7 separate regions of the Homo sapiens genome follow, and all the other regions are linked to region 1. Evidence: promoter capture Hi-C in 16 types of primary human blood cells and fetal thymus (Javierre and others, 2016). All regions are on one chromosome and are shown on one strand. The core of a region is centred on a gene start or on the middle of the fragment in contact, and the rest is flanking DNA. Distances in the headings are between cores, read along the strand shown.

What was found. Contacts are between HindIII fragments. The CHiCAGO score rates a contact against its expected background, and 5 or more counts as called.
Region 2: a contact is called between the fragment with the promoter of CSTA here and the fragment with the promoter of IQCB1 in region 1, in 2 of 17 cell types (monocytes and M1 macrophages). The highest score is 7.6, in monocytes.
Region 3: a fragment that was not itself captured here is called in contact with the fragment with the promoter of IQCB1 in region 1 in 3 of 17 cell types (M1 macrophages, M2 macrophages and M0 macrophages); the score reaches 7.2 in M1 macrophages.
Region 4: a contact is called between a fragment that was not itself captured here and the fragment with the promoter of IQCB1 in region 1, in 4 of 17 cell types (M1 macrophages, M2 macrophages, M0 macrophages and 1 more). The highest score is 11.2, in M1 macrophages.
Region 5: a fragment that was not itself captured here is called in contact with the fragment with the promoter of IQCB1 in region 1 in 3 of 17 cell types (M2 macrophages, M1 macrophages and M0 macrophages); the score reaches 7.4 in M2 macrophages.
Region 6: a contact is called between a fragment that was not itself captured here and the fragment with the promoter of IQCB1 in region 1, in 1 of 17 cell types (M2 macrophages). The highest score is 5.0, in M2 macrophages.
Region 7: a fragment that was not itself captured here is called in contact with the fragment with the promoter of IQCB1 in region 1 in 1 of 17 cell types (M2 macrophages); the score reaches 5.1 in M2 macrophages.

The regions. Positions count from the first base shown.
Region 1 is chr3:121,833,561-121,836,494 of GRCh38, forward strand. IQCB1 (IQ motif containing B1) reads right to left here and starts at 1,500. Exons shown (of 15, transcript NM_001023570.4): 1 at 1,406-1,500; 2 at 831-919. EAF2 (ELL associated factor 2) reads left to right here and starts at 1,649. Exons shown (of 6, transcript NM_018456.6): 1 at 1,649-1,831. The coding sequence starts at 1,726. The HindIII fragment of the contact is 9,498 bases long and covers 1-2,934 here.
Region 2 is chr3:122,323,867-122,326,800 of GRCh38, forward strand. CSTA (cystatin A) reads left to right here and starts at 1,382. Exons shown (of 3, transcript NM_005213.4): 1 at 1,382-1,492. The coding sequence starts at 1,427. The HindIII fragment of the contact is 6,914 bases long and covers 1-2,934 here.
Region 3 is chr3:122,284,355-122,287,288 of GRCh38, forward strand. CASR (calcium sensing receptor) reads left to right here. Exons shown (of 7, transcript NM_000388.4): 7 at 1-2,934. The coding sequence ends at 837. Among named protein-coding and RNA genes, the nearest start is that of CSTA, 39 kb to the right of the region's middle. The HindIII fragment of the contact is 4,595 bases long and covers 1-2,934 here.
Region 4 is chr3:122,263,858-122,266,791 of GRCh38, forward strand. The region is part of intron 4 of CASR (calcium sensing receptor); the gene reads left to right. Among named protein-coding and RNA genes, the nearest start is that of CSTA, 60 kb to the right of the region's middle. RefSeq lists a silencer at 1,230-1,331. The HindIII fragment of the contact is 259 bases long and covers 1,352-1,610 here.
Region 5 is chr3:122,246,536-122,249,469 of GRCh38, forward strand. All of the region lies in intron 1 of CASR (calcium sensing receptor), which reads left to right. Among named protein-coding and RNA genes, the nearest start is that of CASR, 64 kb to the left of the region's middle. The HindIII fragment of the contact is 3,946 bases long and covers 1-2,934 here.
Region 6 is chr3:122,229,725-122,232,658 of GRCh38, forward strand. The region is part of intron 1 of CASR (calcium sensing receptor); the gene reads left to right. Among named protein-coding and RNA genes, the nearest start is that of CASR, 48 kb to the left of the region's middle. The HindIII fragment of the contact is 6,113 bases long and covers 1-2,934 here.
Region 7 is chr3:122,106,238-122,109,171 of GRCh38, forward strand. It overlaps CD86 (CD86 molecule), which reads left to right. Exons shown (of 7, transcript NM_175862.5): 4 at 1-263. Among named protein-coding and RNA genes, the nearest start is that of CD86, 52 kb to the left of the region's middle. The HindIII fragment of the contact is 7,908 bases long and covers 1-2,934 here.

The sequences.
Region 1 (2,934 bases), core at 250-2,749:
AAAGATTCTACACAAGACATACTCTCTGCTATTGTTCTGGTTGGGAAAGAAAAGTATGTTTATGTACATGTGTACACACACACAGATACAAAAAAATATACTTAAGAATATCAGATATATGTTAAATGCTAAATAGATGACACAGATAAGAATACAGGCCATAAAGTCAGAGGACTGGGCTTCTCTGAACCATTTTTCTTGCTGTAAACAAAATAGCAATTCCTACCTCCTAGAATGATTCTATTTAGAAGAGAAGGCAGCCACCAAGATGGTCTTAAAATGTAGTATAAGTGTAGAGCTGGGCCTTAAATAACCATTTGGAGACCTCTTATCATGCTCCAGGAATTGTTCTAATTGCTTTCATGTATTAACTCATTTAATCATTCCAACAACTCTAAGGAACAGATACTATTATTTTTTTCCCAATTTGAACAATGAGCATACTTAAACTCTGGAGAATGTAATTAGCTGGCACAAAGTCACACTGTTAAGTATAAAGCAGGGGTTCAAACTAGAGCCACCATCTGCCTTAAAGCATTTAACTACGATATGAAACAGCTTCGGCACACCTTCAAAGGGTAGGATTTACACAGACAGGTTGAAGGAGACATAACCACCTACCCCAAAATCAATTGACAAATGTGCCTAAGGCAGAAGGTGAGGGAGTGCAGTTGGATTGCGTAATTACCCTGAAAAACCACCTGTTATGGAAACCATCTGTAAACTTTCTCGAGTGTTTCTCCTATAATTCAACACTTCTCCCATCTTTACATTAAATTCATGAAATTTGACACAAAAAGACAATTATTTATCTATTTTAAGGCTACTACCCTGTTGCCAGGCCACCGGGTCCGGCCCAGCCTTGATTCTTCGGGAATCACTTCTCCCTCGCCGCGCCTGTTACTGCCTCCACGGATCACTGTGAGGAAAATAAATGAAAAGGAAATTCAGTGCGATCCTGTTGCGGCTGATCCTAAATGTCTGCAGTTGCTATCTCCGAATCCTCTTTCTCCTCCCCACTACACATCCCCTTCTCCAGTCCTAGGACCACAAGAAACTTCCTCTGGTACAAAAAGGTCAGAAAACGATTACTGAGGTAACAGCGTCGCTTCAAGTCTAAGGACCGAGATTCTGGGGCCTCTGGGCTCCTTTACTCCAGATTCTAGACCCGGCTTTCGCGCTACCAGGCCTTGGATAAGACACTAGGCCCTGTGCCTGGACACTGCACCTCCCCAGGCCTCAGTTTCCACACCAGATCTCTACAGAGTGGGCGTGAGGGCAGGCCGATTCTCCCGTTAAGAGCTCTTACAAGCCGGCTGACTTCGTCCAGGAGCCTGGGGTCCTGGCCTCCTGGTAGGCGCCCTGGGGCCCTCTCCCTCCCCAGCCACCACCTCAGATAAGTTACCTCATCCTCGCTTCGCGTTCTTCCACTAAAGAACCTGGGGCTCCCACGCCGCACTACAGCGCCGCGGCCTTCCGGGGCAGCGTGCGTCGCGACGCGGGAAGGGGCCTGGAGGCGGGACTAGGAGCCTCGGAGTCAAGGGGCGGAGCGCCCTTTGCTAATAAGCCAATCAGAACGTGAGACGCTCCGGTGGGGCGGTGCGCGTCGAGCGCGGGGTGGAGTCTGGGTGACTTGGCTGGCGGGATCAAGTGCAGCTGCTTCAGGCTGAGGTGGCAGATAGTGAGCGCTGGTGGCGGAGTTAAAGTCAAAGCAGGAGAGTAATTATGAATAGCGCAGCGGGATTCTCACACCTAGACCGTCGCGAGCGGGTTCTCAAGTTAGGGGAGAGTTTCGAGAAGCAGCCGCGCTGCGCCTTCCACACTGTGCGCTGTGAGTGAGGACCATCCGGGGATAGAGGGGGAGCCTCCCGGGATGGGGGTGAAGAGGCACAAACCCCTCTGGGTTTTGTTCCCACAGTACCCCTTACACTGTTGGAGACTACGGGGCGGGGAGGGGGGAGGCAGCGCGATCCTCTAACCTGCTCGGAGTCTTAGGGGGTCGGTGGAAGGAATCGGAGTAGAGCAAATGTGGGTAAACCCTGGACAGAGAGCGTTGAGACCAGCAGACAGGAAGGGAAAGTGTGAAAAAAGTCTGTAGAGGTGACTGTGGAGACAGACGTGACAGGTGGATGATGCAGGGGTGGACAGGAAAATAATAAGGTGACAAATGGGAAGGGACTAAGGACCGAATGCCGGGGAACTTGAATGCCTTGAGGCTGGTGGGGCAATATTCTCTCTTTTCATCACTTTTTCTCACCTCTGGCAGATGAGGGTTCTTATTTGGTGTGTTCTTTGCAAAGGGAGAAATTCTCAACCATCCCAATGATCTGTATATCTCTTTGGACCCCAGATTTCACTCAGTTATCAAATACTGATTATCAAAGTATTCGAGGGTGTGTTATTAATTTCTTTATTTGGAAGATGCTTACCTCCCTATGATTTCTACCCTTTGGTTTTCTTTATGTCCTCTGGAACTAGTTTTAATAAATTATTCTCTTTTATGTTGTTGGAGTAGAAAAAGGAGCTCTTTTGCTTTAGCAGTTGGATGATATAGATTCCAGGAAGGAAAATATAGCATATAAGTTTTTATGTGTAAGACATTCGTTTTTTGCATAACAACTGTCATAGAATTGTAGAGCGGGAAGGAAACTTCAAGATCACTGAATTATAACTTCTCATTTTTCTGTGGTAAAACTGTAAGTATTTTTTCACTTCCTTTCCCCAGCCTTGCCCTTCCTTAATATCTCATCATTCCGCCTTTCTCAGTCATTCTGTTCTCGGGTTGTTTAGAGACCTTTATGGTTTTTACTCTGAAATGTTCCATGGTTCAATCAAAACAACTAATTAAAGCATACATTCTCCCAAAAGTTTATTTAAGTTGTAGACAATTTAGTTATAGTTACTCAAAGTAAAGGTATGAAGAACCACTGGTTT
Region 2 (2,934 bases), core at 132-2,631, 490 kb after region 1:
CACCTCGGCTTCCCAAAGTGCTGGGATCACAGGCGTGAGTCACCGTGCCCAGCCTCCAATTATTTTTATATTTGTATGTGTAAAGAATGTCTCTGAAGGATACAGAAGAAGTTGGTGCCAATAATTGTCTCTGGAGAGTAGAAGGGTGTCTGAGGAATTAAGTGAGTGAATAATTCCTTATATTGTAAAGCCTGGTTCCTTCCAAACATTTTTATCCTGTGTATGTATTATATATTCCCAAAATTGAATAAAATAATATACATAAATATTCACACAATGTGGCCATTTTGCTTCTAGATAAGTTGTCTGCAGAAGCCCTCACTCATGTAAAAAGGAGAAAAAATGCAACGTTGTTTGTAAGAATGAAACACCAGAAACAACGAAAATCGTCATCAATAGAGAAATGAGTATGTAAAATATGAACTAGAATATAGCAATTAGATAGGTAGACTAAATAGATAGGTCTAGCATAAAATAGCATATCACAGTTAAAGGAAATGAACAGGATTGATCTATCTGTGGATTGATCTATGTGTATATCAACATAGAAAGGCTCAAAAACATGTTGAATAGAAAAAGGAACATAACATAGAATATATTTAGCATACAATTTAAGTGAAATTTTAAAGACACACCAAGTAAGACATATTTTAATTTTAAAGACACACATATAAAAATGGCCTGGAAGGATATTAATTCACCATGTACTTTGCCTTCTGGAAGGCAAGGTTGCGTGGGGTGTGGGGCTTCCTCCATATCTGTAATATTTTATTTCCTAAAAATAACTACAAAAATAAAAAACAGCAAGCAAATATGACAAAAGGGTTAAAAGTTTTAATTCTGAGTGATAGAAATATAGATGTTTGTTATTTTATTCTTTGTGTTTTACCGTATGTTAAACATTTCCAGATATTTAAATAAGAGTAAAGAAGACACATCCAGCCAAGGTCCTCCAGATAGATCCTTTTGCTTTCTTTCTAAAGTCAAGTAAATTCTAAACTAACCTTGACATTATTAGTAAGTTTTGCTTTAAAAAAAATAAAATTTTGTGTTAGAAGTTTTAAAACATTTGGAAATTCTAGTTGCGGCTTCAGATTTCATAATTCAGATGATGCAACAGGATGGAACCATTGTCAAAGAGAATGCAGGGACGTTTGATGCTTGTTAGGACATGACTCCTGTACTTGCCCATTTGTTCATCCTCCAACCCCTCTTTCTTCCAAATTCCATGTAGCATATTCTCTCCAGGAAGCAAGAAGACTTGCCTGGCGGCATACTCATTTTCCCCATGCCTCTTTGCTGTTTGTGGAAAATAAAGCATTCTATAGGCGGAGCTAGTGAACGCCTCTTTTAAAACACGAGTCTCCACACTTCCCTGTTCACTTTGGTTCCAGCATCCTGTCCAGCAAAGAAGCAATCAGCCAAAATGATACCTGGAGGCTTATCTGAGGCCAAACCCGCCACTCCAGAAATCCAGGAGATTGTTGATAAGGTGAGTTGATGCCATTCAGGAAAAAGTCTGAGCCAAAATCTTGATTCATAAGTTGTCCCTGTGGAAAGGCTGTGGTTGAACATGAAAACCAGAAGTTTAGGATGTTTGTGGCTTTGTTCAGGTTTCTTTACAACTAAGATGAAATAAGAGTTTTTCAGATGAAGCCTCAAATAATCCCCAAACTGTGAGTGTGACCTTGAGCAAATCACATTTCTTCTCTGAGCTTCATTTTCTCCATGGGTAAAAGAATTTGTATTGTATCTTCTCTAAAGCTCTTACAAGATATGATTCTAGAATTACTAATTCAGTTTCTGATGAAACTTTTCTAATCTCACCAAGTGAAGCCAACGTGTAATTGAAGTCTAAGGTTATTAACAATTTGATGAAGTAGTCTTGGAATGCACTGCAGGGAAAATTTTTTTAAATAGATTGAATGAAGAATAATATTGTAAAGGCAATCTACTTACAAACTTCATACACTTTTGCCCAAATAGATAGTGTTTTAGTCTTTTCATAGTTAAAAGGTAATTCAACTAATAGAACAGAGGTGACAGTCTATAGTGACTCCGAAATGTCATAGGGCACCAAATTATATATGGAAAAATAGAACTCAATGTTGTTAGCAGATTGATGTGTTTTTCACTTCTTCTTTTTTGTTTTGTTTTGTTTCATTTTTAAGAGATGGGGTCTCACTCTGTCACCCAGGCTGGAGTGCAATGGTCTGATCACGGCTCACTGTAGCCTCAACTTTTTGAGTTCAAGCGATCCTCCCCACTCAGCCTCCTGAGTAGCTGGGATTACAGACATATGCCACCACGCCTGGCTGATTTGGGGGGTTTTGTTTTGTTTTGTTTTTAGAGATGGCATTTCATTCTGTTGCTAGACTGGTCTTGAATTCCTGGGCTCAAGCCATCCACTCACCTAGGCTTCCCAAAGTATTGGGATTACAGGCGTGAGCCACCACACCCATCCCTGATATATTTTTCTTTGTGTGATTAGCTATCATCTAGCTATGTAGTAAACATTTATTTGCATATTTTATGAAAGGAAAACATGTACAAATTACTACTTTAGGTTTTTAGTTTGTTGCCTTATTTTCTTATATTATTCCTTCTTATTTTTTCTCTCTGAAACATCATTCTATGACAGCTTGGAAAACAAGATCAGCTTTTTGTGTGATTATAAGAGTTGGGATCCTGTATATTCTGGGAACTAGAAAGCTCTCTAAGGGGCCAGATGCCTAGAATCCCATCACTCATTCTTGGGGACTAATTATTTCTCTTTCAAGAGTTCTTTTTTTAAATAAATATCTTGGAGCTTTTTTCCTGGGAGATGATATTAAGTCAGTAATGTCTTCATGTGAATCCCCAGATCAGATCAATGTTCTCAAACTTGAATGTGCACATGAATCACCTGCACGTCTTGATAAACCTTAGATTCTG
Region 3 (2,934 bases), core at 1-2,500, 450 kb after region 1:
TTCAATGAAGCCAAGTTCATCACCTTCAGCATGCTCATCTTCTTCATCGTCTGGATCTCCTTCATTCCAGCCTATGCCAGCACCTATGGCAAGTTTGTCTCTGCCGTAGAGGTGATTGCCATCCTGGCAGCCAGCTTTGGCTTGCTGGCGTGCATCTTCTTCAACAAGATCTACATCATTCTCTTCAAGCCATCCCGCAACACCATCGAGGAGGTGCGTTGCAGCACCGCAGCTCACGCTTTCAAGGTGGCTGCCCGGGCCACGCTGCGCCGCAGCAACGTCTCCCGCAAGCGGTCCAGCAGCCTTGGAGGCTCCACGGGATCCACCCCCTCCTCCTCCATCAGCAGCAAGAGCAACAGCGAAGACCCATTCCCACAGCCCGAGAGGCAGAAGCAGCAGCAGCCGCTGGCCCTAACCCAGCAAGAGCAGCAGCAGCAGCCCCTGACCCTCCCACAGCAGCAACGATCTCAGCAGCAGCCCAGATGCAAGCAGAAGGTCATCTTTGGCAGCGGCACGGTCACCTTCTCACTGAGCTTTGATGAGCCTCAGAAGAACGCCATGGCCCACAGGAATTCTACGCACCAGAACTCCCTGGAGGCCCAGAAAAGCAGCGATACGCTGACCCGACACGAGCCATTACTCCCGCTGCAGTGCGGGGAAACGGACTTAGATCTGACCGTCCAGGAAACAGGTCTGCAAGGACCTGTGGGTGGAGACCAGCGGCCAGAGGTGGAGGACCCTGAAGAGTTGTCCCCAGCACTTGTAGTGTCCAGTTCACAGAGCTTTGTCATCAGTGGTGGAGGCAGCACTGTTACAGAAAACGTAGTGAATTCATAAAATGGAAGGAGAAGACTGGGCTAGGGAGAATGCAGAGAGGTTTCTTGGGGTCCCAGGGAAGAGGAATCGCCCCAGACTCCTTTCCTCTGAGGAAGAAGGGATAATAGACACATCAAATGCCCCGAATTTAGTCACACCATCTTAAATGACAGTGAATTGACCCATGTTCCCTTTAAAATTAAAAAAAAGAAGAGCCTTGTGTTTCTGTGGTTGCATTTGTCAAAGCATTGAGATCTCCACGGTCAGATTTGCTGTTCACCCACATCTAATGTCTCTTCCTCTGTTCTATCCCACCCAACAGCTCAGAGATGAAACTATGGCTTTAAACTACCCTCCAGAGTGTGCAGACTGATGGGACATCAAATTTGCCACCACTAGAGCTGAGAGTCTGAAAGACAGAATGTCACCAGTCCTGCCCAATGCCTTGACAACAGACTGAATTTTAAATGTTCACAACATAAGGAGAATGTATCTCCTCCTATTTATGAAAACCATATGATATTTTGTCTCCTACCTGCTGCTGCTATTATGTAACATCCAGAAGGTTTGCACCCCTCCTATACCATATGTCTGCTTCTGTCCAGGACATGATACTGATGCCATGTTTAGATTCCAGGATCACAAGAATCACCTCAAATTGTTAGGAAGGGACTGCATAAACCAATGAGCTGTATCTGTAATTAATATTCCTATATGTAGCTTTATCCTTAGGAAAATGCTTCTGTTGTAATAGTCCATGGACAATATAAACTGAAAAATGTCAGTCTGGTTTATATAAGGCAGTATTATTGAGCTCTATTTCCCCACCCCACTATCCTCACTCCCATAAGCTAAGCCTTATGTGAGCCCCTTCAGGGACTCAAGGGTCCAGAAGTCCCTCCCATCTCTACCCCAAAGAATTCCTGAAGCCAGATCCACCCTATCCCTGTACAGAGTAAGTTCTCAATTATTGGCCTGCTAATAGCTGCTAGGGTAGGAAAGCGTGGTTCCAAGAAAGATCCACCCTCAAATGTCAGAGCTATGTTCCCTCCAGCAGTGGTATTAATACTGCCGGTCACCCAGGCTCTGGAGCCAGAGAGACAGACCGGGGTTCAAGCCATGGCTTCGTCATTTGCAAGCTGAGTGACTGTAGGCAGGGAACCTTAACCTCTCTAAGCCACAGCTTCTTCATCTTTAAAATAAGGATAATAATCATTCTTTCCCCTCAGAGCTCTTATGTGGATTAAACGAGATAATGTATATAAAGTACTTTAGCCTGGTACCTAGCACACAATAAGCATTCAATAAATATTAGTTAATATTATTACTGATACTGTAATAATTATTTTTTCCCTTACTTCAAATACAAAACAAAACATACATATTAACCATTCAGATTGTACTGCCTAGCCCACTGATCACAATCACTCTCTCTGTAATAAGCCCAAGAGCTCTGGGCCCAACACATGGGGTCAGCCATAGTATCACTGGCTCATGGTGAGGAAGCCAGAAAGCTGGTCAGCCCCTCAGGTGGCCCAATGCCCTGTCTCCGCAGTGTCAGGGCCTGGACCTCCAGCATCCAGGGAAGACCATCACCAGTCTAGCAGGAGGTTCTAAGCTGAGGCCAAACCATTGCAATTAAATCTCCTGAAGCCTCAAATTTTACAGCTCTTGGTGACTTCTTCCCCTGACCACTTTCTTCCAAAGGGGCGCCTTTCAGTGATTTGTAGGGCAAATTGGTGGACTTGATAGTTGTTAAGATTATAATGAGAAATCATTAGAGGGCACCATGTGGGAGCGCGACTGTGAGCAGAAGGTGGTGACTCAGGATGACCCAAGTGAGGTGCCTGCTCCCCACCTAGGAAGGGCACCGGCCCCCACCCAGCCTGCGCCCCCCTGCAGTCATGCCTCTGAGCAAGGCACCGAGCTGAGTGGGGATTTATATTTAACATTTTACTTGGTCTTAAAAGAAATGCTGAAAATGTGATGGTTTCAAAATAACTATGAGGGAACAGCCTCAACAGAATGTGACATACTTCTCCCTCCAGGGTTTGACTTCAATGTCCATGTCACCCAAGGGGCTTTAGGAGGAAAACATAGGTTTACAGTGAGCTTTTA
Region 4 (2,934 bases), core at 231-2,730, 430 kb after region 1:
AGGTATGGGGTTTTAAGTAGGAGGAGTAAGGGAGCAATCTTCTAGGTGGTTGTTACTATTGTCTTTTCTTTCTTACCTCTCACGTCCAATGCAAGGAGGACCTCAGTTCTTGAAAAAACTGCAAGACAAGAGTAGGGTTGAAGGAAAAACAGGCTTCAAGGGGGAAACTTGGCAGTTCTACTCTTCAATGGCTCCTCTTCCAGATAAGGAAATAAAATACAGATGGTCAAGACCAGACCTTGGACCTGTGAGAAAAAAAAAAAAGCCATGACAGGCTACAGTCACAACTGGGACTTTTAGTTGTGTAATAGAAAGCCCTAACCAAATTGGCATAAACAAAAAAAGAGGAAATGTAGTGAGTGGGTCATGTCACTAAAAATCTCAGAAGTGTTCCAGGTACAGCTAGGTATTTTCATCTCATCTTTCTGTTCTTCATTCCCCAGGGTTAGCAATTTTCAGCTTCTGTAGCAGCTTGAAGCTAGGATCTCCTTACTTCCCAAGATATCCTGTAAAAGTTCCAGAAACCACATTTATTGACCATTCCTAAGTCATGGATCCATCCCTGATGCTAGCAGTCCTCCAGACTACATAGACTTAGAGTAAGGGGGGAGTGAATCTCCAGTGGGAAGTCAGGATGCCATTACCAAAAGGAGGAAGAAATAGAAGCAAAGCAGCCAACATTCAAAATGTCCACTACACAGACACTTCACCCAACCATGGCCCAGGTAAAGATATGTTCTCCTGACTCTTACATGGTCTGGAAAAATCTCCCCAGGAGACAGCACAGATAGGAAAATGGGATCAGAACTCTAGGGAGGAATGACATGGGAAATTGGCCAAAATGTCCTGAGTGCTTGGTGTGAGTCTCCTTTGAGCCTCAGGAACCCAGGCTGTTGGATGGGCGTTCCAGAATTTGAGGTCTTGGCCAGGAGATGAACTAGCAATTATTCATTCTCATTATTAAGACCTATATCTTCATCAGGAAATCAACTAGCAATTATTCATTCATTCTCAATATTAAGATCTATATGGAAACTTATCACCTATAATCTAATCCAAGTCTCCAGCTGGAACTCCATGTCTGCCTTCTCTCAGTTCTTCCCCTATAAGCCAACCTGCATGACACCTCCTCACAAATCACTCATTAGTTTTTGGCACAGCATCTTTGCATAGGCCATAGCCCACACCAGAAGGGCCATCAATTTTTATCTCTGCTGTCATTTTCCACCAGGAACATTTAAATTGTTTTCAAAATCCACTTTCCCCTGGAAGTCTTTTCAAATCGTATTCCCACAACACATTTTCTGATCATTCTCGCTTCCTCATTTTTGATGTTTATATACCCAGCTTAAGCTTCCACAGCTCTTTAATTGACTGAAATAGACACTTATTAGTTAAAATTCTGGTTATAAGGGTCAATCACAATTTTTTTCCTTTCTTTCTCCCCAAAAAAATATTTATCAGTCAACTCATATGCCTCAAAAGTAGCACTAGCAGGTGATTTATGAGCATACAACTCACAATTGCCTCCTGACCTCTTCTTGGAGACCCCCAAGCCCTCCTCACATCCCTTCCCAGCTCTCTCTTCACTACTCCTTTGCTGTACTCTAAGCTTCATAAGATCCAGAACCATGCCTGTATTGTTCAGTACTATGTTCAGAATGCCTGTCGCTGGAATATTCATTGAATGAATGAATGAGTGAATAGCAGTCTAGTTGATTTGACCTGTCAACACTACCTATAGGCCTTTGCAGGGAACCGTTTGAGCCAACAACCCATTCTTGAATCAATCACTGTGGCCAAGGTATTCTAGGCTCTGTTTGGACAAGCTTTGGTCACGTGCCCACTATCAAGTTTGAGTGGAACATCATGTAAGTATGAAATCACCTTCTTTCTTCTCTCAGGATGATCATGCACAAGGTGTGCTTCCTACTCTCCTGCACCTCACACCAACACTCACTAGTCAGAAAACAGGCGTGCAGCCATGGTGAAGATGGAAGTCAGATGGAGCTGATCTTTCTAGGAATTCCTGGTACTGCTGGAAGTTGGGGAATGGGGGATAAATTGTGAGGACAGCCAGAGAAGATGGAAGGGAGATAAGAAAACATGGCTGGCGTTAGAGAAGGGAATTGGGCCTGGATCTTCCCCATGCTCTTACCACAGGAACTGGGCAAGATAATGAACTTCATTATCTTGTTCATTATCTGTGTGACCTGGCCCTCATTATCTGTATAAGAGCTGGAAGTCCTAGACCAGAGTGGGGGGGTTTCTAGTCTCTAATGTTCAGTTTAATTCAATTGACGCTACTAAGAATGTGTGCCAAGAGGTGATTTCCATTTATGCTTATAATGAGCAACCGTTTGACTTTAAAATCTTTTAGGGGAAATACCCTAAAAGACCACAAGATGGGAATATTATGGCATAAAAGAGTATGTTAGCTTCTAAGTGCATGCATGTCCTGTATTTGCCCCTCTTTTAGATCTATGTGTCTTTCTTGGTGGTGTTTTCTTTGTGAGCCTGTAAGTCTCTTTGTGTCTGTATGTTATGTTCTATGTTCAGATCTTTTTGTTTGTTTGTGTTTTGTTTTTTTGAGGCAGAGTCTTGCTCTGTCACCCAGGCTGGAATGCAGCGGCCCGATCTTGGCTCACTGCAAACTCCGCCTCCCAGGTTCAAGCAGTACTCCTATGTTTGGATCTTTCTACTAGCTTTTTTTGTTTCTCTTCCCCTTCGTTTATTCTTTTTCCTCATATTACTCCCCAAATAAAATAAATAATTTGGAAGCATATAATATTGGATAATAATCTCAAGTAAAATTTTATATTTCATTTTAAAAGGAACTGTCAGTTCCTTTTTAAAAGCAAAAGAAGCCAGGGGCAGTGGCTCACACCTATAGTCTCAACACTTTGGGAGGCCACAGTGGGTGGATCATGAGGT
Region 5 (2,934 bases), core at 175-2,674, 410 kb after region 1:
AATTTTGGCCAGGTTTTCCAAAGAAAACCAGAATTTCCATGTGCTTAGAAAGATGTCCCCACGATGTGCTAGAACAGGCTTCTATCGGCGCTTGAGAGCCGATGGTTAAATATTCAGATTTTTTACAAATATGTTGTTAAACCATTGGTAGCTTGAAACTGACCATGGTGGGAATATTTAGCATACACCACAAGTCAGGTCTTGTTTTTCTTTTAGAAGCCAGACTACAAGCACACCACCACATGTCCCCAGTGGTCCTCAGACAAAGACACTGTGTGAGGTCAGGAGAGTTGCAAGTGGATGGGGAAAGGCTCAGTGTACAACTTTCTATGTACAATAGAAACCCATCCCTCAGGAGTAGCGGAGAACAGAAACATATGCCTGACCAGAGAATGACTTCAAAGTTACATCAGCAGTCACCCACCCCACCTGAGTCCTTCTTTCCAATAATACCCTTTGGAATTTCATACCTGGGATTACAAAAACTGCTATGCCCATTGAGGGGCAGACATATCTCCCCATTCAAAGATACACCTAAACAAATGCGAGAATCTCAGATTACAGACTTTATGCTTTCCACTCAGTCAGCCCTTCCAAGCCCATGTTTCACGGCATCATGAAAAGTGTCCTTCAGGGAAGAAAAAAAGTGTCCCATACCAAAATAAGCAATAATCTTTATTGCAGGACTTCTCAGAGCCTTTAAGGAGGCATATGTGCTCCTGTGGCAGAGTGTACATTAGTTCCCAAACTTGTTTTACCCCAGAACACTTCCTGGTGACACATCTTGGGACATCATACTGAAAAATGCCACCCTGGGTAGTCAGGGTTCCTTATGATTTGGAGAGGCAACGCCAGGATGTTATTCCACAGAAATGTTTCTTTTATGTAGGACTTGAGGCTCTGGCATTTTTCTTTATAAAAACATGAGTTGCATATCTTCGCTTTTCAAATGAACCATTTCATTAACTCTGTTGGTGTTCATACATCCGTCAGCAGAGCTGACTTAAGGCATAAAGGAAACAGTTCAGGACAAGAAGTTTCTTAACTTCCTGTGGGCTATGTCGCCAGCAACTCACTCAGTCCTATGTGGACACAGAGTTTGTTATGTTGCCGGCAGTACACACAAGTATGCACCCACTCAACCATCATCATGGAGCCCCTCCATGTTCCAGGCCGCGGATGGGACAGACCTGGCCCTGTCTTCAAGGAGCTCAGGATGCAGCATTAATGAATGTCAGCTTCCTCTATTTACAGCCTTTCTTTGCTTTGTCTAGGCTTCTGTTTCCCCACTTTGCTCTGTGCCCTGTGCTGCTCCTCACCACTCTTGTTCATCCTTTTCCCTCCCTTCCCTGATAGCTTTTTCCAATGACTCACAAGAACCCACCCAGCTCAGCTGCTTTTCATTACGCTCCTGTCTTTGCATTTTTCCAACTCAATTAAGCCATTACCAGAACTAAATGAGGCATGGACTCCCCAAAAGTCACACCTGTTGTCAGGGAGATGGAGGGCAAGACCATGTGCAGCTGGCAGGCAGACAGCAGAAGCCGGGCTTGGGCTTGCGGGAGGCAGCCAAGGGTGACCGGGCAATTTGTGTTTCCCCCAGTGCCGAAAGAGGGCCCTCATTTTAAAACAACATGTGCCTTGCTTTGGTACAGAAGGAATGAAGTCTGATATAGAACTAGGGATGGCCGTATTGGTGATGGCAGGTAAGAGTCCCTAATTCTTTGGCAAATGTGCACCAGCTGTGTATAGAAACCCATATTGTGGATGTCTCTTCAGCAAGAGGTAAAGGAAGCTGCAACTACAGCCAGGCACGTGAGTTTGGTGATTATTGATTAAACTTTTTCAGGTTTATTTTTCCTGTTCACCCTCATTAAAACATACACATTTCACCTTTCTGCAATAGTGGCTTCAGACCCTACTGTTAGTATCTTTATGATCATTGTGACGAAAGAGAGTAAAGATTACAGTACAATAAACCAGAGACATAGCAGTGTACTCACGTTATGGAGATAAATTCTATTGGAAATCAAATTTGGTCTTATAATTCTCTTTTTTCTAGGCAACCTAGAATTTTTTTTTTTTTTTTGCCATCTAGGAATTCAAAAATAGTAGCTTTTGAGCTTGCTGTGCCTTTAATTTACTGAGTGATTTTATGTTCAGAAGGTCTGCGCCTGGGTTTTCTCTATTTGAAATGTGAGCAAAATCATTTTGCTCTAGAGATTCACAATTTCCAGAAATGTTGAGGCCAAGAGGTGAGAGTAGGGGTGGTTTTTATTTGGAAGAAAATTGAAATGTGGCAGTGTTCACTCCTGACGTTGTTTTGCTATCCTCTGTTAACTTGTTTTGACTCCGGAACTTGGATTAGCCACGTAGCTACTCTTTGGACAACAAGTTCAACAGACATTTTTAGAGCATCCATTTAGTACCAGGTTCTTTGTTTGATGCTGAGGATGCAGCTATGATCATGGAGAAGCCTCTGCCTACAGGAACCATCAGTCTCGTGGGGTGACCCCTTCCTTGTCCTGTCCAGGAATTGCCCAACCAGCCTCTGGTCTTTACTGTGTACACTTCATACATTTGTTCAACGAATATTTGTGAATCATTTGTGCCAGGTGCTGTGCTGGGTGCTAGGCAACAATGGTGAAGAAAAGAGACAGGCCTTGGCCTCATGAAGTTTCTGGTCCCCACCTTGACTTAATTCTCTTTCCCAGCAATCACCAGAGAATATCACTATTTGCTCTGTGCTCCCTCAACACTTAAACCATGCCTCTTTATAACATTTAGATCACCGTCCTTATAATGCGCCTTTCTGTCTCTTTTTAAACCTTGAGCACCTTGAAGGCAAAAATTTCAACTTTCTTTCCCTAGTGTCTTGCACTCCCTGGTATCTAGCACATAGAGAGCTCAATAAATGTTTTTTGAATGAGTAAA
Region 6 (2,934 bases), core at 186-2,685, 400 kb after region 1:
GGTGGCACACACCTGTAATCTCAGCTACTCGGGAGGCTGAGGCAGGAGAATTGCTTGAACCTGGGAGGTGGAAGCCACAGTGAGCCAAGATTGTGCCACTGCATTCTAGCCTGGGTGGGCAACAGAGTGAGACTCTGTTTTAAATAAATAAATAAAAAAGGAAGCCTCCCATTCCTAACCAAGTAAACTATGAAATAATGAGAGACTGTACATTTCTGTTCTACTGCTAACACTGCTAGTGTGTGGCCTGTGACTTGGCAAGCTGCTTCCTGTTTCTGAGCCACAGTTTACCTATTTGTAAAATGGAAGATTTGTACTAAACATATTCTGAGATGCCTTCTTGGCCCCGGCATTACAGTATTGGATTCTAATCATGTATTCATTCTGCTCAGAAATGTTTCTGGTGTTTCTGGTCTTAAGTTATCAATAACCCCTGGTAGAGTCTGGGACATTGGGACGAGATCCTGCAAGCTCAGCCTAGGCTTGCCGGCAGCTGTTTGAAGGAGTCACTCGCATGGACCAGTAAAGCAAAGGCAGCGATGACGCCTCGCGGTGAGGGCCAGAACCCAAGTCCAGGGAAAACGCTCCTTTAGCGCCACGCATTACAAAACAACCTCTCCTCCTTGCTGACGCTGCCGCCACATCCGGGGTGAAAATCGAGCCTAGATCTTTCTGCTCCAGCACAGCCTGGCCTGCAGCGGATGCGGGCGTGAGAGGGACGCAGGAGCAGCGGGGGCGGGGATGCTGCTGACCGTGGAGAAAGCAACCTCCTTCCCTGAGGGGCTTCCCCTCTCTGCGCCACCATCCCCCACCCCCTGCAACAGGGCAGCGGCTGAACCCATCTCTGTAGGTGGGAGGTGGGATGGGAGGGAGGAGGAAGACCCTCTCACCTGAGCAGGACTTGGAAAGGAACCAGGAAGAGAGCCCACTTCCAAATCCAGTCTCTTCCACTGAGGTTCCACCTGCATAGAAGGGGCTTCCTGGGACCCACCAAGCCCGTGATACCACTTGGTCATCTTACAAGAGAAGACACCAAAGCCCAGAGAAGGAAGCAGCTGTCCCAAGGAGGAGCAGCTAGGTGGGGACTAGAACCACCATATCCTGGCCCCTTCTACTTCTCTGTCCCCTCCACTAGACTTCTTCAGCCAAAGGGGGTTTCTCTTTTTTTAGTTTCTTTGCAAACCTGCTTCCAAATATTTGTATTGACCTATCGGATTGATACTTAAAGAATCAGGGATTTGTGCATTTGACACCTGAAACTCATCTGTCCCCTAAGGATCTTCTTGTGTGTTCTGCTTACCATCCACTCAGAATTTTTGCAGCTTTTTGAGGGTCATCATCCACCTGCAGTCACTTTAGAGACATCAGAAAGTGTCATGATCATGATCCCCTTGTAGAAGTGAGAAGTGTGTCCTGCAGCTAATCCCATCCACCATGCAGACAGGATGCTAACCAGTCTCAGAGGACACCATTCCTCTGGCCCACCTGTTGGGTGGCTTACCTGACTTTCTGCCCCAGTCCTGTCTCAGCATCATACACTTGCTGTTTGAAGGTGGCCATCCCACGAGTGGGCTAAACTAGGCATTCTAGGACTGGTCAGGAGGTGGCAAGTCATCATGCTGATCAATTCAATTAGTAAAGGCACTGTTTGGGAAGAGAGAGGGGGACACTATCACCATCATACGAAGAGCTAATGTTTTTTGAGCATTTACTATGTGGTAGACTTTATGCTAAATTCTTACAAGTATTGTTTTAATATAATCCTTACAGCAACCGTACTATTGTTATTCCTGTGTGGACAATGAGGAGACAGAGGCACATAAGGAAAAGGTTACTAAATGGGGAATAAGGAAACTCATCTTCCATTCTTTCTCTATCTCTCTGTAATCTCGTGCTAGTCACTTAACCTTGCCTTTCTGGTACATGAAACATCTGAATTGGAAGAAATTATGTGCATATGTGCATTTTTCTGGAAAGAGCAGCCACAATTTTCATCAGCATCTCAAAGACACCCATTACCCCCCTCCCACTCACAAAAAAAAAAAAAATCAAAGAACTCTCAGGACTATCTCATTTTATAGCCTTTTTCACACTAAACAATTTACCTTGCATTCTCTTCTAACATTGTAAATACCGACGGGCTTGAGCAGTACCGATAGGCAGATTCAGATTACAGTCACCCCTGAGCCAAAGACCTCTCTGTGATTCAGGGGTGTGAAGGGCTCCTGGCTGTGCACTGGCCTTTCCAGCACACCCGCATGTCCAGATAGCCATCGCAGGAAGGACGACGTGGGGATGGGATCATCAGATTCACCCTCCAGCTACTTGCAACACCTCAGCAGTTTTACTTCAGCTTGTTGTATTCTTTCCTTGCAACTGGACTGTAAGTTTATATTGCAACCCCAAGAAAAGATTCACAATCCCTTTTTTTTATTGTACTATAAAAAGAATTCTAGTGATAGAACCTCCACAGGGCTTGAAGTGAAGCAGCCATTCATTAAGTGTCTGCTGTGTCCTGAGTATGCCAGCAATGAACAAGACAGACCAGGTCCCTGGCTGCATAAAGAGCAAGAGGGACTGTGGCAGGGAAGTGCCACGCAGATGCAGAGAGCACGAGAGTGAGGCCTGGAGAACCAGGAGGGGCTTCCTTGAGAAGTGGTGTTTGAGCCACTGAAGGATCCCTGAAGAATGCCTCATCCCTGATGGATGAAGAGAAATGAATTAAGCAAGAGGCACAGGTCAGAGGGGTGGAAGAGCATTCTGAGAGGGATGGGAAGGGCCCAAGGCAATAAAGAACTTGGCCCACTGGAGGAACTGAAGGGAGGGCAGGCTAGGTGCCAAGAGAGGGAGAGTGGTGTGGGAGATGCAGCCGGAGAGGAGGCAGGGCCAGTGTATGCAGGGCCCAGGAATCGCCAGGTGGGATGCTAACTGGCT
Region 7 (2,934 bases), core at 1-2,500, 270 kb after region 1:
AACAGAAAATGTGTACATAAATTTGACCTGCTCATCTATACACGGTTACCCAGAACCTAAGAAGATGAGTGTTTTGCTAAGAACCAAGAATTCAACTATCGAGTATGATGGTGTTATGCAGAAATCTCAAGATAATGTCACAGAACTGTACGACGTTTCCATCAGCTTGTCTGTTTCATTCCCTGATGTTACGAGCAATATGACCATCTTCTGTATTCTGGAAACTGACAAGACGCGGCTTTTATCTTCACCTTTCTCTATAGGTAAAGCTGTTTTCCAAGACTATTTCTTTCAGCAGGTATTATACACAAATGCTTAAGGCAGATCATCCAATGTCCCCGACTTGCTAGGAAACCTCCAACTGGGCCATTTTATGACGCTGTTAGGAAGGACCCAGATGGAGGTCTCCTGCTTCTCCTGAGTGATGCAGGGTCCAGGAGGCTACGAGCCTATGTTGCACTTGAAGAAATATGCTTTTAGCCCTGAAACTGACTCAGTCTCTTGGTTTACCTTTGGATGGAGGATTCTGAAGTTTTGATTTAAAAATACAGGATTCCTCCAGGCTAGAATTCTTTCTTTGATTACAACACATACATGCGCTTGCACACACACACACACACACACACACACACACCATGCATACATGCAGACATACAAATGATATTTATTGTGAGTATAGAACCATTTGGGACATTATTGGTCACAGGAGTGAAAACAAAAAGATATGACACCCCCTCTGCCCTTGAGGACCTTCCAATAGAATCAGAACCCTGTAATGTGCACACATGAAAAACTGGATTTTTAAAAGGTTGAATTGGAATCTAAATTTTATTCCATGGAAATATCTGACTAAATTTAAAATAAAAGTGACTGGTAATGAGATTTATGGGCATTCAGAGGTAGGCAAGATCCCTGAGGGTCAGGGAATGGTTCCTAAAGGAAGGGGTACCTTGTAACATGTAAAATAAATTATTGGGGTTAATAAATGTGGTGAGGAGGGGAGGGCATTCTGGATGACAGGTTCCCAAAACTGTGGTGACTTCCGTAGCTGAAAAAATTTGAGACAGTATCTGGGCTAAGCAGGTGAGAGGACCACAGTGGATCAGCTGTATCTGACGTAAGTGCAGGAGGTATGTCAAAGAAAGCCTTGGAGGCAGAAATGCTTGTGTGTTCACAAGTATTCTTCAGGGACAAGTTCAGTGGAGGAAAGGATTGAAACTAAGCAGTAGCCACTAATAGGAGCCTGACATTTTAAAGTCCTGGCTTTACCCAGGAGGGCATGTGTCTATATTTGACTCCTCTTTTAAGAAGCTGTAACTGCAAGATTCCCTCCTGGAATAAAGGTGGTCTGCATCTACCCTGTCCCATCACTGCCTGTGCTGACCTTGACACCCACATCTGCCTTCTTCTTACCTTGACCCCTTCTCCAGCGGTGATTTCTTGGCTTGCCCCCTCCAGTGACATCCATCCAACTCCTTGCTCCATACCCTGGCTTTGTCACCTCCTTTCTCCCAGTGTCTTGTTGTTCAGATATAACTTGGTCTGTGAACAGCCCACGGGGCCAGTCCCCATGAACCAACTTTACAACTGGGCCAATCTCATCTCCTGCTACTGACTTCTTCCTATTCAGACACTTCAGCCTCTGAGAATCCAGTAAATGGTGGAGCCAACTCGTCCTGTCCCAGTTGCTTCTCCTGTATCCTCTCTTGGCCAGATAGAAGCCTCTCCAAGCTATGCCTGAAGTTCAGTACCTCCTTCAATGTGTAATTAGTTTGATTGGTGGCCACAAGATGGCCATATATGACATGCCCCAGGGCCCTCTGTTACGGCTCCCATAGTCTACAAATTAACAGGGGCTTGCCACCACTATAACCTCATCATGGCTCACCTTCCTGCTGCTTCTCAACTACTGTTCTGCCAAACTTCAACAGGTACCCCCATCTTCAGAAATGTTTCAGCTCTAGCTGCCTCAGGAAGATGGGGCTTGCCTCTCTGGGTTTCCCATTCTATCGCTTGATCAGAGATAGGTTAGACCCTGAGTCAAGGGGCCTTTTTTGCATGTTAAAAGGTAGCAGCCTCCACGTTAGTAAGTATAACCCCTAACCCCCTTTACTGGGAGTGCCAAACTGGCTCAAGTGGAATAGACTGGGACAGACTCAAAAGGGATTAAATATGGCCTGCAATGCCAACAACTTCTTAACATCCCAGAAACAGGGCATGTGTCTACAAATTATAGCTAAGCTAATAGATCAGCTGGTCCTAATTTTCCTGAAATTTGGGATTAGCTACCAGAACTGTTCCCAAAAATGTCTTTAAAGTGGGCGACTCCGTTCTAAGTTTTCCCCACAAAGCCTGTTTTCCAACTCCCCAGAAACTTAGGAGTTCTCATGTAAGGAAGTAGTTCCTGAAGGCGTGAAGGTTCCTCAAGGCATGAAGAAACATCAAAGGTTTTTCAGTAGATGAGATATGCTGAAAGCCATGCAGAGGAAACCTGCTGTGACCTCAGTAGGAAAAAACTAAACAAACAAGCAAATGAAAACTAGAGGTAGGGGCCTGTGGAAGCTGTTCCATTTGTCCAAGTGAGAGGTGTCTGGAGATTATAGTGGACAGAAGAATCATCACGAGAGGAACTTCAGGGCCTGGGAACTGACTGCAGAGGGGGGCAGGATAGCAGGCACGGCACAAATGACTGCACGTGCAGAGCCTCAGCACAGACACCTCACCCAGATTCCAGAATCACGGGCCAGGCTGACCCTCTTCTTCCTGATCATGGTCGGTGTTATCCCCACCTCCATGAAGGCATGGCAGCTCAGTCCAGGCATTTGGCCAGAGGCATGGGCTCGATTCTTAGGTCGCTGCTGAGGCCCTGAGCCTGGGACTTTCTATGGCCTCCTATTGTGGATTTCAGGCTTCTCTGGCCTTAGAGCCCTGGGG